Regions from separate parts of the Homo sapiens genome. Here region 1 is linked to region 2. The links are contacts of gene promoters, found by promoter capture Hi-C in blood cells and fetal thymus (Javierre and others, 2016). All regions are on one chromosome and are shown on one strand. The core of a region is centred on a gene start or on the middle of the fragment in contact, and the rest is flanking DNA. Distances in the headings are between cores, read along the strand shown. Region 1 has its middle 57 kb from the start of GPR12. Region 2 holds the start of CDK8 (cyclin dependent kinase 8).

Region 1 (6,973 bases), core at 849-3,348, 450 kb after region 2:
TTAAAAAAATGTGTAGTGTTTAATCTGAACAGCCAGTGGCTTAGTCAAGTTAACATATACATGAAGAGACTTATTATGAGGAATTGACTTACACTATTATGGAGGCTGAGAAGTTCCATGACCTGCCATCTGCAAGCTGGAGACTCAGGAGAGTGGGTAGTGCAATTCCAGTCTGTGTCCAAAGGCCTGGGAACCAAGGGGCCTCGAGGTGTAAATCCCAGTTGAAGGGCAGGAGAAGATGAGATGAGATCTGCCCACGCAGGCAGGCAGGAAGCAAAAGGGGCGGATTCTTTCTCCTTTTGTTCTACTCAGGCCCTCAAGGGATTGGCTGAGGCCCCCGTACATTAGGAAGAGAAGTCTGCTCTACTGAGCCCACAGATTCAAATGCTTGTCTCATCTGCAAACACCCAGAAACACTGTTTAATCTGGGCACCCAGTGGCCCAGTCAAGTTGACACATAGAATCCACCACCATGGGGTAGAGAGAAGTCACAGAATCAGACTGCTTGGGTTCAAATCCTGGCTCTGTTCTGTGACCTTGGCCAAGGTACTCAAATGACCAATTCTCTAGTTTTCTCATCTCTGCAGTGGGGGAGTAATAGTGCTTACCTCAAAGGGTTATTCAGATTTTGGTAATTGGCTGTTGAGCTATTCAGATTTTCTAATTCTTATGTCAATTAATCATTTCAAGTTTTTTTTTGAGACAGAGTTTCACTCCTGTTGCCCAGGCTGAAGTGCGGTGGTGTGATCTCAGCTGACTGCAACCGCCGCCTCCCGGGTTCAAGCGATTCTCCTGCCTCAGCCTCCTGAGTAGCTGGAATTACAGGTGCCTGCCACCATGCCCAGCTAATTTTTTGTGTTTTTAGTAGAGACGGGGTTTTCACCATGTCAGCAAGGTCTCGAACTCCTGACCTCAGGTGATCCACCTGCCTGGGCCTCCCAAAGTGCTGGGATTACAGGCGTGAGCCACTGCGCCCGGCCAGCGTTTCAAGTTTTTAAGAGAATGTGTCCATTTCCCCTTCTCTTTTTATTTTATTTTTATTTTTATATATATTTTTAAATTTGAATTGCTTCTCTCTTTTTCTTGATTAGTTTTACTACTGGCTTTTCTATATTCCAACTTTTTTCAAAGAAATGAATATTTGGTTTGATTCATCTTCTCTCTTTTTGTATTATTCTTTCTTTCATTCGTGTCAGCCCTTATCTCGGGTGTTTGCTTGCTTGGGGTTACTCTTCTTCTTTGTGAAGCCTGTTGACTCAGAGCTTACCTCATTTGTTGTTTTTGAATGAATGCATTTAAAATTATAGTTTTACCTCTAAATATAACTTTCTTAGTCCTACAAATGTTGACATGTGGTCATTTTCTTGTCATTCAATGTGAAATATTTAATAATTTTCCTTATTTTTCTTCTTTATTACAAAGATGATGTATGTGTTGTTTTTGATTTTCATCTATATGGGATTATATACATTGATCCTTTTGATATTGATTTTTTTTCTTTTCTTTTGAGACAGTCTCGTTCTGTTGACCAGGCTGGGGTGCAGTGGCGCGATCTTGGCTCACAACAACCTCTGCCTTCCAGGTTCAAGCAATTCTCCTGCCTAAGCCTCCCACTTTTGATACCGATTTTTTAAATTTTATATAAGGCTAGAGAAGATGGGCTGAATGTTGCTGATTCTTTGGTATGCATTGGGCCCTCCTTCATGGGCTTATGTATCGCTCGTGTTCATGACTGTTCTGTGTGCACTTAGAGGCAATGCTCATTTTCTTTAATCTCTAATTAACCAAGATTATTCAAAATATTAATCGAAGCTTCTATGCCTTTGGTTATTACTTGCCTGCTTGATCTGTTAGCTTCAAAGGAATATTTTAAAATATCTAATTTATATTTTTATTTTTAATACTCTTTCCTTTTCTTTCTGATTTTTAAAATTTTGGCCTTAAAACAGTTTTGATACCAAAATTGATATACAGCTTTCTTTTCATTTATATTTGCCTGGGATATGTTTAATAACTTAAAAGAAACTTTCCGTATCCTTTCATTTTAAATAGGTTTCACATACATACACATGTTCGTACATATATACATACATCTATGTAATGAATAGCTTTCTTTTCTAATCTTTATTTAAAATAGCTTCATCAGATTAATAGTTTCTTTCCATTTCTAGTTTAAAATTTTGTTTAAAAAATCACAAGTAGTTGTTGAATTTTACAAATGACTTTCTATATTTATTCAGATGTTCATGTGACTTTTCTCCCTTAACCCGTTAACTACAGATTACATTATTTTGTTACTATTTTGTTTAGAAGTTTTATATTTATTTTCATGAGTGAGATTAGTCTACAATTTTCCTTTTTAAAACTATTTTTATTTCGGGAACAAAGCTTTGTCAGCTTTATAGAATAAGCAAACAAGCATTTTTGCTGTTTTCTATTCTGTAGAAAAGCTTTTATAAGATTGGCACTTTTGGTCTTTAATTTAAGGTTTGGCTGAACTCAAGAGTGAGGCCATCTGAAGCTGGGCTTTTCTTTTGGTTTTTGATGCTGATTCAGTTTTTTTTGTTGTATTTTAGTATTTTGTATTTTAGGGCAATTGTCGCTTTTTATTTCTTCTTGAGTCATTTCTGATGAGTTACCTTTACCTAAAAATTAGACTATTTCTTCTAAATTTCAGGAAAAAGTTATCTGTTATATTCTCTTGTTATCTTTTTAATGCCAGCAACCACTATCGTGATGCTCTGTTGAAAGCAGTTTGTGCTGTCTTTTGCCTCTGAGTCCAGCTCACTGGTGCTATGCCAAATTTATTAGTTCGTTGTTTGTTTGTTTTTGTTTTTAAAGAAAGTAACCTTTAGTGTTGGTCCTCTTTATTATGTTTGTTTTCAATTTTATTTGTTTGTGCTCAGAATTTTGTGATTTCTTTCTTTCTCACTTCTTCAGGTTTATTTTACTATTCTTATTCTAACTTCATGAGATGGACTCTTAGTTCATTATTTTTCAATCTTCTTTTCCATCATACACATTTTATGGCTATAGTTTTACTACATTCTGCTTAATTAAATTCCGTAAGTTGGGATATGGAGTCTTTTAATTAACATTCAGTTCAAGATATTTTCTAATTTGCATGTGTGAGTGATTCAGAAGCAGGTTTCTTAATTTGCAAACAGATGAGGATTTTCTGCTTAGGTTTTTGGATTTTAGTTCTCACTTTATTGCACTGTAGTTTTAGAAGACACTTTGCATGATAGCATACATGCTGTCTATGAAATTTGATGAGATTTACTTTATGATCCAGGACATAGCCAGTTTTAGAAAATAGTGTATTTGAGGTTATTGGATGCAGTGTTTTATATCTGTCCATTGATTTAAGTTTTTTTGTATTGTCAAGTCTTCTATATTCTTACTGAATTTTTTTAAATCACTGAGAGGATGTCTGTTAAAAAAAAAAAAAAGTCCAGGCCAGGTGTGTGGCTCACGCCGATAATCCCAGCACTTTGGGAGACAGAGGCGGGTGGATCACTTGAGGTCAGGAGTTGGAGACCAGCCTGGCCATGATGGCAAAACCCCGTCTCTACTAAAAATACAAACATTAGCTGGGCGTGATGGTACATGCCTGTAATCCCAGCTACTTGGGAGGCTGAGGCAGAAGAATCACTTGAACCCAGGAGGTGGAGGTTGCAGTGAGCCAAGATCATGCCACTTTACTCCAGCCTGGGTGACAGACCGAGACTCTGTCTGAAAAAGAATTCAGACTAGTATCTCTTTATTTTTGAAGTTCTATCAGCCTTTCCTTCACATACTTTTATACCTGTCATTAGGGTTTGTAATTTCGTGTCCTATTTATGTAGTGCCTGCTATGAACACGCACGCCAGGCATTGTTCTAACTGCCTTCGTTACATACTAGCTCCGTTATATCCTCACAACTACCCTTAGAGGGAGGTATGAGTATTGGCCCGGCGCGGTGGCTCACGCCTGTAATCCCAGCACTTTGGGAGGCCGAGGTGGGCGGATCACGAGGTCAGGAGAATGAGACCATCCTGGCTAACACGGTGAAACCCCGTCTCTACTAAAAATACAAAAAATTAGCCTGGCGTGGTGGCGGGCGCCTGTAGTCCCAGCTACTCTGGAGGCTGAGGCAGGAGAATGGCGTGAACCTGGGAGGTGGAGCTTGCAGTGAGCCGAGATTGGGCCACTGCACTCCAGCCTGGGTGACAGAGCGAGACTCCGTCTCAAAACAAACAAACAAACAAACAAACAAAAAAAAAAACAAAAAAAGGGAGGTATGAGTATTATCCCCATTTTCATGGGAGGACAGTGAAAATAGCAGAGATTAAGTAATGTGCTGAAGATCACACACACAGAAAGGAGCAGAGCCGGGCTGAGATAGGCAGGCTGACTCTGGACTCTGTTCTTTTAACCAAATGTGTGTATCTTTCTGGAGTGAACTCCTGACTTTATGACATGAACTACATTCTAGTAATTTTCTTTGTCTTAAATCTATTTTGTCTGCTATTAATAATGCTCCACCGACTTTTAAAAATTCACATTTTCTTGGTTTATCTTTTCCTCTCCTTTCACTTTCAACATTCCGCATCCTTATGTTTTAGATATGTCTCTTGTTAACAACAAATACTTTTGTTCTTTCCATTCTGACAGCTTTTGTATTTTAGTTGGAAAAACTTAAGTTTAATATGACTTCTTATATCTGTTGTTTAGAGCTAGCAGGTTAAGTTGTACTTTTTCTTTGTCTGTTCTTTCATTCTTTTCCCTTCTTGCCTTCATTTGGATTGATTTTTTTAATCATTCTAATTTTTCCTTTAAGTTATTTTTTATATTTTTAAAAATCACTACTCTAAGAATTGTAATACGGAAACAATGTATCAAAGTCTAAAGTTAACCAATAATTTTTCCCAGAGGTAATAAAAAATGATTTTTAGGCTGGGCGCAGTGGTTCACACCTGTAATCCCAGCACTTTAGGAGGCCAAGGCGGGTGGATCACTTGAGATCAGGAGTTCGAGACCAGCCTGGCCAATGTGGTGAAACCCTGTCTCTAAAAAAATACAAAAATTAGCCAAGTATGGTGGCAAGTGCTTATAATCTCAGCTACTCTGGAGGCAGAGGCAGGATAATCAGTTGAACCTGAGAGGCAGAGGTTGCAATGAGCTGAATTTGTACCACTGTACTCCAGCCTGGGTGACAGAATGAGACTCTGTCTCAAAAAAAAAAAAAAAGATTTTTAACAGCCAGTGTGGCACACACATAGATCAATCAGAAGCACACCGGCCAGGTCATGCAGGGGGATGCAGGGATGCTCACCACCAGGACACAGCCCCGTGCTCACATGCCTCTGGGACGGCACATGGGCTATACCCCATTTGCCTCTGTGTTAGTCAGCTCAGGCTGCCATCACAAAATACCACAGACTGGGCAACTTAAACAACCCAGATTAATCTTCTCACAGTTCTGGAGGCTAGAAGTTTGAGATCGAGGTGCCAGATGATTCTGCGTCTGGTGAGGGCTCTCTTCCTGGCTTGCAGATGGCAGCCTTCTCACTGTGACTTCACATGGAGGGCGAGAGAGGGAGAGACAGAGAGAGAGAGAGAGCTCCCTGGAGGCCCTTCTTCTAAGGCACTAATCCCATCCTCCTGACCTGATCCACCCTCCTGACCTGATGTAAACTACTCACCTCCCAAAAGCTCTGTCTCCAAATACCAAATACTTCAACATATGAATTTATGGGGGTTGGGAGGGAGTTCAGCCCATAGCAATCTTTTTTTGTCTGACTTACATGTTTTTTTCTCATTATCCTAACCTCATAAGATAGAATTGTTTCATGCAGTTAGTGTTCTTTTAGATTTATCACAATGTTTATCTTTATTATTGCTCATCATTTCTTTGTATATTTCAGACCTTCCATTTGAGCTCCTGAAGTACGTTATTTTAGAACTTTCTTTAGTGAGGATGTGCTGGTGGCAAGCTCTTATTATGCTCATCTGAAAAGATATTCATTTATTTATTTATTTTGAGACGGAATTGCTCTGTCGCCCAGGCTGGTGTGCAATGGTGTGATCTCGGCTCACTGTAACCTCCGCCTCCCAGGTTCAAGCGATTCTTCTGCCTCAGCCTCCGAAGTAGCTGGAATTACAGGTGCCCACCACGATGCTCGGCTAATTTTTGCATTTTTAGTAGAGACAGGGGTTCACCATATTGGCCAGGCTGGTCTTGAACTCCTGACCTCAGGTGATTTACCCATCTCAGCCTCCCAAAGTACTGGGATTACAGGCGTGAGCTACCATGCCCGGCCTGAAAAGATCTTTATGTGACCTCTGTTCCAGTTACGGAGTCTCTTAGCACCAACATCCTCCTCCACGCCCTGCCTTGACACCAGGCTGGGACCCTGTCCCCTGCCTTCCCGCCTTCACCAGCAGCCCCTGTGTGACCCTGCCAGTAGGGGGCTCGGCCAGTCAGCTTCCAAGCAGGAGACAAGCTGGACCGGTTATTTAAATAGGAATATTTTAATATAAAGAATTATTAGGTAGAACAGGATAAGGTGGTTCATTATTAAAAGAGGTAAAAGGAGACCCACAGGAGCCCAGAATTAGTAGATGCAAAAGAACAGCTACTGCCTCTAGCGCGAGGAGGACAATGAAGGAATGAAGTACAGCAAGTCCTTGAATAATGTCATTTTGATCAACGTCATTCATTATGTTTGATGAGAAAAAAATTTGCTTCCCAGCTGGGGCACTGTCTGTGTGGAGTGTGCAGTTGCCCCCACGTCTTGTGGGTTTTCTCTGGGTACTCCAGTTTCCTCCCACACCCCAGAGCTGTGCATGTTAGGTTTGCTGGTGTGTCTACATTGCCCCGGTCTGAGTGAGTGTGGGTGTGTGGATGCATCCTGCAATGGGATGGCATCCTGAGCAGGGCTGCTTCCCGTCCTGCACCCTGAGCTGCTGGGATATGTTCAGGCCATC
Region 2 (7,874 bases), core at 4,083-6,582:
TTACTAAGGGGCAAAATCTGATTCTGAAGGGCTCAAAAAAAAAAAAAAAAAAGATACTAAAATGGTGTGTGGTCCTCCAATGTGCTACAGTACACAAATAGATACACTATATCCGTAAAATTAACATTTCATGGGGGTAGACAGAAAAAAAAATCTAAACATGCTCCTTAGCGGGGAAACCATTTTAAAACAGGTTGAGAAACTATGATACGTTTAACACTATGATCTTTATCTTGCTTGACTTCTTGGCAGCATTCAGTGCTATTGCCCATCCCTCCTTTTCAAAACATGTTCTTCCCTTGGCTTTTGTGATTTCATATTTCCTGATTTTCAAATAACCCTCTGGCCTCCTCTCCTATACTCAACCTTTGAATGTTGGAGGTCCTCAGGGATTTGTTCTTTCTCACTGTAACGTATTTACTTTGTAGGCAATCTAACCAACTGTTATGGTTGGTGATTTCCAAATTCTTATCTCCAGCCCTGCTCTTTGCTTTGAGCTTCAGACTCCCACATCCACCTGCCCACCAGATATGTTCACTTAGATTTCTGAGGCATTGCATGTTTGACATGTCCAAAATGGAACTTACTTTTTTCACCTAAACTTGTTACTCTCAGTCTTCCCCATCTCAGTAAGTGGCAACATCCTCAGGAGTCATCTTAATTACTTCTTTTTCTTTACTTTCCATCCAACTGATCAGCAAGTTCCATAAATCTCTGTCTCCATACTATCTATCTATTATCTATATATCTATCATCTATCTATCTGTCTCCCTCCCTCCCTATCCATTCATCCATCCATCCATTTACCCATCTATCATTCATCCATCCATCCATCCACCCATCTATCTATCCATCCATTCATTCATCCATCTATCATCTATTCACCCATCTATATATCCATTATCCATCTGTTCATTCATCTATTCACCCATCTATCTATCCATTCATTCATCTAACTATTCATCTATCTATCTATCTATCTATCTATCTATCTATCTATCTATCTATCTGTCTAATCTGTCTACCTATTTGTCCATCCATCCATTCATTCCTCTATCTTCTATCTATCCATCAATTCACTCATCTATCTATCCATTCATTTATCTATCTATCTATCTAGCTATCTATCTATCTATCTATGTCACCATCCATCCATCCATCCATCTTGCCTCCTACAATTAATTCTTCACATAGCACCAGGATATTCTTTTTAAAGCATAAATCACATCTGGTCACTCCCCTCCTTATAACCTTCTGAAAGGTTGCCTGCAAATAAAACCCAAACGCCTTGCTATGGTCAAAAAGGCCATATATAATCTGGTCCCTGTCTACCTCTCTGTCTTCACCTCACACAATTTCACCTCTTACTCATTATATTCTTGTCATCTTTCTGTTCCTTCATTCCCAGCTTTGCCTTTTGCACTTGCTGTCTGTTTAATCTGCCTGGACTACTCTGCTCCCTCATCCACAGCAGATTTTGTTTCTCAACCTTCAGGTCTCTGCTTAAGCATTGTCTCCTTAGAGAAACCTTGACCGTCTACCAATCTAAAGGAATTTCCTCCTGGTCTCACTTTCTATCACATTGTCCTGTTTTATTTCCTTTATAATACTTAGGGCATTCTTCCTCCTGTGAGCTCCCTACCCCCATCTCCCTCATGCCCCCTAATAAAGGAGCTCTCATATTCTTGCATGGTCCTGTCCCTGTGGCTACACTTAGTTGGCCTAGGACGGGCCTGACTCAGCCATACCAGAGCCCTTCTTGGGATTTTTAGAACCAGAATTGAGAAACAGTCAATTCTTCGCTAATGAAAGCCATTGTCTGACGTAAAATTCAGCAACTATTGGTGGTCATGTTTCCCGTTGTGTGGAGGAAATGAGTCCACAAAGGCAAATGATACCCACATGGTGAAGGGGAGAAGAGTAAGATATTTTTGAAAGTATTTTTTATATTCTGGTTATTTCTAAGGTCTAAATTATATTCTGGATGCTTGCAGAGTTAGTAAGGATACTTTTTGCATCTATAGTTTCTTTGAAAATTTTTTAAAAATCAGGCCAGAAAGACAGAGTGAAAAAAATGAAATATTAAAAAAAAGCTCTTGGATTGATTAATCTAACTTGTTCTTCCTTGTGTCGAACACTGTGCTCACATGTAGATGGTTAATATGTGCGGGATGAACGTGCCACCTGTAGAATGAGAGGTTACATGCTTTCCACTGAAAGCATGCCTTAATACTGAGTGAGAAAGTGGAAGTCAAAGTTGTAGAGACTGCAGTGATTAACTATGAGAAGAGCCACTTGGGCTTTTACATTAATATATCATGAAGCACTCAGTCCTTTTGCAGCTATAAAAAGCCCTTTTTAGAGGCAAGACTGAGGCAAGATACTAAATGTTTTACAATGACTGTCCTCTGACAGGTGGAGACCTTTATTATTATTAATGTCCATTTCAACATTTATTGAAATCAATCCAATGAAACACATTCTAATGAAATATAATTACGCAAACAATATGTGCTTGGAACTGTAGGGGATATATAGATGATTAAGGCAGGAACTCAGTCACTAAATTTATTAAGGGGCAGATTTTTTTAATCGCATAAAATAAATGATTAAAATACAAGGTAGCTATAATGAGTTACAAATAAAGTGCAATGGTGCCAGGGCTGGGGTAGAGGTTCATGATAAAGAAAGGTCATATCTAGTTGCAAGAACTGGGAAAGACTTCATGACCAAATTAAGCACTTGGGGGATGGGTAGGACTGTAAAGGTCAGAGATGGTATGAGGAAGCATCTTAGCCCTTAAGAACCTTAAGAACACACAAAAGGAGACACTTAAAACTAAATATTAGATGCTGCTGTTCCTAGCATTAGCCATGCTCTCCTATAAGGGGCCCTTAGTGGCTATCTCTTTCTCAGCTCCCCATCCTGATACCATTTTACAGGGTCAGCTTACCTCCTACCACCATATTCCTCCAACCTAGTGTCTAGGCCTCTAACTCTCACCCTGGCTTCAAAGAGAAAAGCAGATCTTGCTCTTCCCTAGTCCAAGGTTAGCTTCTTTTCCTGCCCCCAGGAAAAGACTGACAGTCAGGACTGACATTCAGGATACTCAGTTGACAGTGAGGACACTCAATTCCTTCAGGGAGAGTTCACCTTCACCCAGAGTGAAGCCAGCCAAAACAGTGTATAAAAGTACATTTTTAAAAGTCTGAGGCCAGGTATGTGGCTCATGCCTGTAATCCCAGCACTTTGGGAGGTTGAGACAGGAGGATCACTTGAACCCAGGAGTTAAAGACCAGCCTGGGCAACAGAGCGAGACTCCGTCTCTCAAAAAAAAAAAAAAAAAAAAAACTTAGCTGGGTGTAGTGGCACATGCCTGTAGTCCCAGCTACTCAGGAGGCTGGGGAGGAGAATTGTTTGAGCCCAGGAGTTCAAGGTTGTAGTAAGCTGTGATCGCATCACTGCACTCCAGCCTGGGTGACATAGCCAGACCCTGTCTCAAAATAAAAACACAAAAAGACAAACAAAAAAGGTCTGAGACCTTCAGTGTTCCAGAATAGTGTGTATAATTGGTACAGGAGGTGGGGAAGGGGGACCCGATACAGTGTAGGGGCAAGCTGAGTCCCATGCCTCTTCACAACTTTTCCTCCAGTGTGGTAGTTTGATTTCTCAAGATCCATGAGTAAATATGTGCACAAAAGACACATCCCTCAAAAAATACAAAATACATTGTCTAAGGAAGAATCTTTTAAATCCATATTCAGAAAATGATGTAATTCTTTAAGGATGCAAATGAGCAGTTCTGCTAGAGAGTTACCCAATTTTCATCACTGAATGGAAACAAATAATATGCCATTAATGAAAGCCTACATTTGTTTTGTGCTTTGCACTTTGCAAAGAAAAAATTCTAGGCTCCAAGAACACATTAGTAAATGACAATGCAGGATTCAAACCCAGTATAGTAAAATACTCAATACTTATATAGTATGCTAGGTAAAAACAATTTAATTTTACACAGTGGTGAAGTCACTAATTTTCTCCAAGGAAAATTATATAAGAGAAAGCCCTTTGGAGGCTTTTTCACAAGATGATATCATCATCATCATCATTGGTATATGGATCTTTTTGAGATAAACATGTTTATTCATTCATTAATTTAACAAGTGTTTACTGTGCATCATTATCAAGGCATGACACTAGGTTTTACAGAAGATGCAAATATGACTTCCTATAACAACTTAGGATCTAGCAAGGTAGAGGAAATAAAAGATGAAAGGAATTTGATAAATATCACAGGAAAGGTGGGAAAAAAAGTGTTAAAAAGTTCACATTAAAACTGCAAAGTTCATATTCCCTTTGGGAAGTGGGGAGCTTTAGTGGAAATGGTAACAATTGGAAAACCAAAAATTAAAAATAGACAAGGGGGGTAAGATAAAATGATAGATTAGTATCAAGATACCAGGACTCCTGAAGCAGGACATATTGCTACCTTAAGATTATTAACAAACTAGTTCCCATGGATTTAGATCCTTTCTGTAATCATAGCTAGAAACTGGTGTTCTTATAGGTAGTATCGCAGAAGGCTGTACTGTACTCAATACTTCCTGTATATGGATAGGAAAGGTTTGGATGGTCATCTGTCACAAGAGTAACAATGTTTAGGAGTAGCTTGGACACTGGTCATTGATTCACTTTTATTGGTGCTTGTAATGTCAGTATGTTGACATCATTGTGCAGCCCTTATCAGATTGTGAACACCAAGAGTACCCCAACTGCTGGCCCGCGAGCTGTTTACAAATATCATACCGGCTTTTATCGATGATAGTGGCCTTTAAAATCTGGAGTTCAGAGTGGCACAAAATGTGTTTCTAATGCAAACGACTCTCCTTCCCACGTGCACCTCTTTGATCAAGTTTGTGGCTGAAATCAGACTCTAGTTAGATCGCTGTAAAAATAAAAATAAATTTTCCCCAAATGATTGAAACGAATTTCACCCTAGACTACGAGTCCCATCATGCAACGCTCCCATATTCCCACCGTGTGGGGCGGAGTCGTAGAAGGGGCGGCAGCGGCGGCGGCCTGTGCATTCTGGGTATTGTAGTCTGGGGCCCGGCCACCGCTGGGGCTGGTTCCACGTGGTGCATTTGGCGGCAGCTTTGGGCAGTGGCTCCCCTGCTCCCTCCACACGGTCCTCAGGGTGCCAGCGCCAGCAGGGGCGGCCAGCCACCGCGGGAGCGGGCTAGAGTGTGGCCCGGAGGCAGCCCGAGGCTTCGCGACGTTTTTGCGACAGCCGCGGCCGTGTTCCGCGAGTGCCCTCCCTCCTCCTCTCTTTGAGGAGGTACCGGCTGTTGTGCGGCTCTGCCCTTCTGTTTGAGTGTATGGGAGAGTGAGTGAGTGAGTGAGTGTGAGCGTGTGTGTGAGAGCGTGAGGCGTGAGTGCGCGTGTGAGAGGACGAGAGCCCGCCTGGCCGCCCCGCCGCTCCCGCCGCAGCAGGAGCAGAACGCGCGGCCGGAGAGAGCGGCGGAGCCGGCGCCCAGGGAGCCCGCGGGGACAAGGGCAGAGACACCGCTCCCCACCCCCAGCCCTCGTCCCTCGGCTCTCCTTCGCCGGGGGATCCTCCCCGTTCCTCCACCCCCGGCCGGCCTCTGCCCCGCCGTCCCCCTGGATGTCCCTGGCGCTTTCGCGGGGCCTCCTCCTGCTCTTGCCGCATCAGTCGGGCTGGTGCTGCGGCCGGCGGGCGTAGAGCGGGCGGGTTCCCGGGGGCTGCGGCTGCCCGTGCTTCCCCGGTCCCCACCCCTGCCCCCCGGCCCCCCGACCCAGCTCTCCGGCCTCAGAGGCTGTGACAATGGACTATGACTTTAAAGTGAAGCTGAGCAGCGAGCGGGAGCGGGTCGAGGACCTGTTTGAATACGAGGGCTGCAAAGTTGGCCGAGGCACTTATGGTCACGTCTACAAAGCCAAGAGGAAAGATGGGTGAGTGTGTGTGTCTGGGCCGGTGTCCGCGCTGGGCGGCGCTCCCGCAGGCCGAGGCAGGTAGCCCGGAGGGAGAGCGGGCCGCCGGGGTGCCGGGCTCTGACTTCCTCGACGCCGGCCTCTGGCTCCGCCAGCCAGGTTTGGGGAGGAAGTGGTGTACGAGGGATCCAAACCCACGAGAAATCCTGCGTGCCGCGTCTGTGTTCTGCTCTGGTGGTAAGAGGCAAGATGAGCCTCTGCACCGTGGGCTGTATACTTTTCAAGGATTTCAAAGCTGATTCATGAAAAAATTCGTTCTAAAACGCCGGGTTAAATGTTTTTTGTTTTTTTTTTTCCTTGGTCGATTTATTATGGTAACCTTCTGGGGATTTCCTCACCCGCCTCTGGAGTGTCATCCATCGGTCTAGAAGGAAGGCTGTGATCCTTTCCCCCACCAGTTTGTGATCGATTTTTTATCAAATTTGTATTTTATTTGAGGAAAGGAAGGCAGCGAGTGAATGTGGTTCTGGAGAGAGTTCCCCATAGTGATCATCTGCAACATAAATGTTGCAATTGCTATTTAGATATTATTAGCTGTGAATTTTTACATAGAACAATGGGGGTTTGGTGCAGGGTGGGTGGTGGGGAAGAAGGCAAGTGACATAGGGACTATCTCGTTCAGGCGGTTTCCCCCAAATTTAGCGGCTGGCAGTGAACTTTAAATAATCCCTTTGCTTTAAATATTCTTCCCTAGTAACAACTTAATTAAACCTATGACTGGTAATGCTTCCAATTTAGTTTCTTAACAGGCAAGTGAATTGTTCATTTTTTCTCTTTGTCAGTAGATGAATGTCTTGTAATATTGACAAAAGAGAAGGCAATTCTTAGTTGGGGGGAAAATATATTTTATTAACTCCATGTTTTCTTGTAAAATGGATGTTGTCTCTGTTGCCTTTGACAGAATAGAAAATTATTGAAAAGTCAAAGCTTATTATATAATCCTTGGATTTTATTAGAAACGAAGTAGCTTTACTTGAGCATCCCAGTTTAGTCACCTGCTGTATGATGTTTAATCACTTAAAATTTCCAATTAGGTAGGAGAGTATGTTCAGACTACATTAGCACGAAAAAAAAATTCATAAAGCTGAAGTTCCCTACTGTGGGGTAGGGGGGCGCATATTTACAAATACTTTAGTATTCTGGATGTTGGAAAGGAAAGTGTATATTTATTGGACATTTTTCTTAGATTTACTGAAATGTCTTTCTAAAAGTATTTACAATGGACTCTACGAGGAAGATAGGAGTTCTAATTAATTTAGAATGTGTATTTTAGTGCTTTTATGCAACAGTAAAGTGGAACAGATCGGCAGAAGGTAGGGATTTGGATTTGAAAACTTGATATTCTGGGCGCCGCACGTATTTAAAAGTACTTTTTAGCGGAATGGATAGTCTGGTGACACTGGAGAAATCAGCGTCTGGAGATATTGCTGACTCTGTTGTTGTCTAATTAGACTTATTGTTGAAGTTTTACTCTGTAATGACATATATTTTTAAAATTATGTTTGTTAACTCACCATACAATATTTCTCAAAAGCTTTAAACCATCTCCCCTTCCCCCAGTATTATGTAATTTTGGGCATATTCATAAAATCCCCAATCCCATGAGATTAGACATTACAGTACATTTGACCAAACTGACATGTTATATAAAATTCTAGCGCCTTTGCATTATTTTTAATCTGTGTGAGAGAAGCCGGTTCTGTTTTCATAAATTACCAATTTAAGCTAATAAAATATGCATATTTGTTTTAACGTTGTACATTTTATTAGAAAACTAATACTGTGTATTGGCAGGGGGTACTTAAGCACATTTTATATCTCTATGGTCAGGTTTTAATTTAGGCCGTTAAGAATAATTTGAA

The links. The method cuts DNA at HindIII sites, captures the fragments that hold promoters and counts their contacts. A CHiCAGO score of 5 or more calls a contact.
Region 1: a fragment that was not itself captured here is called in contact with the fragment with the promoter of CDK8 in region 2 in 1 of 17 cell types (monocytes); the score reaches 6.6 in monocytes.

Annotation. Positions count from the first base shown.
Region 1 is chr13:26,700,199-26,707,171 of GRCh38, forward strand. No RefSeq gene overlaps it. Among named protein-coding and RNA genes, the nearest start is that of GPR12, 57 kb to the right of the region's middle. The HindIII fragment of the contact is 576 bases long and covers 1,811-2,386 here.
Region 2 is chr13:26,248,797-26,256,670 of GRCh38, forward strand. CDK8 (cyclin dependent kinase 8) reads left to right here and starts at 5,333. Exons shown (of 13, transcript NM_001260.3): 1 at 5,333-5,973. The coding sequence starts at 5,846. RefSeq lists a silencer at 5,338-5,937. The HindIII fragment of the contact is 11,884 bases long and covers 1-6,937 here.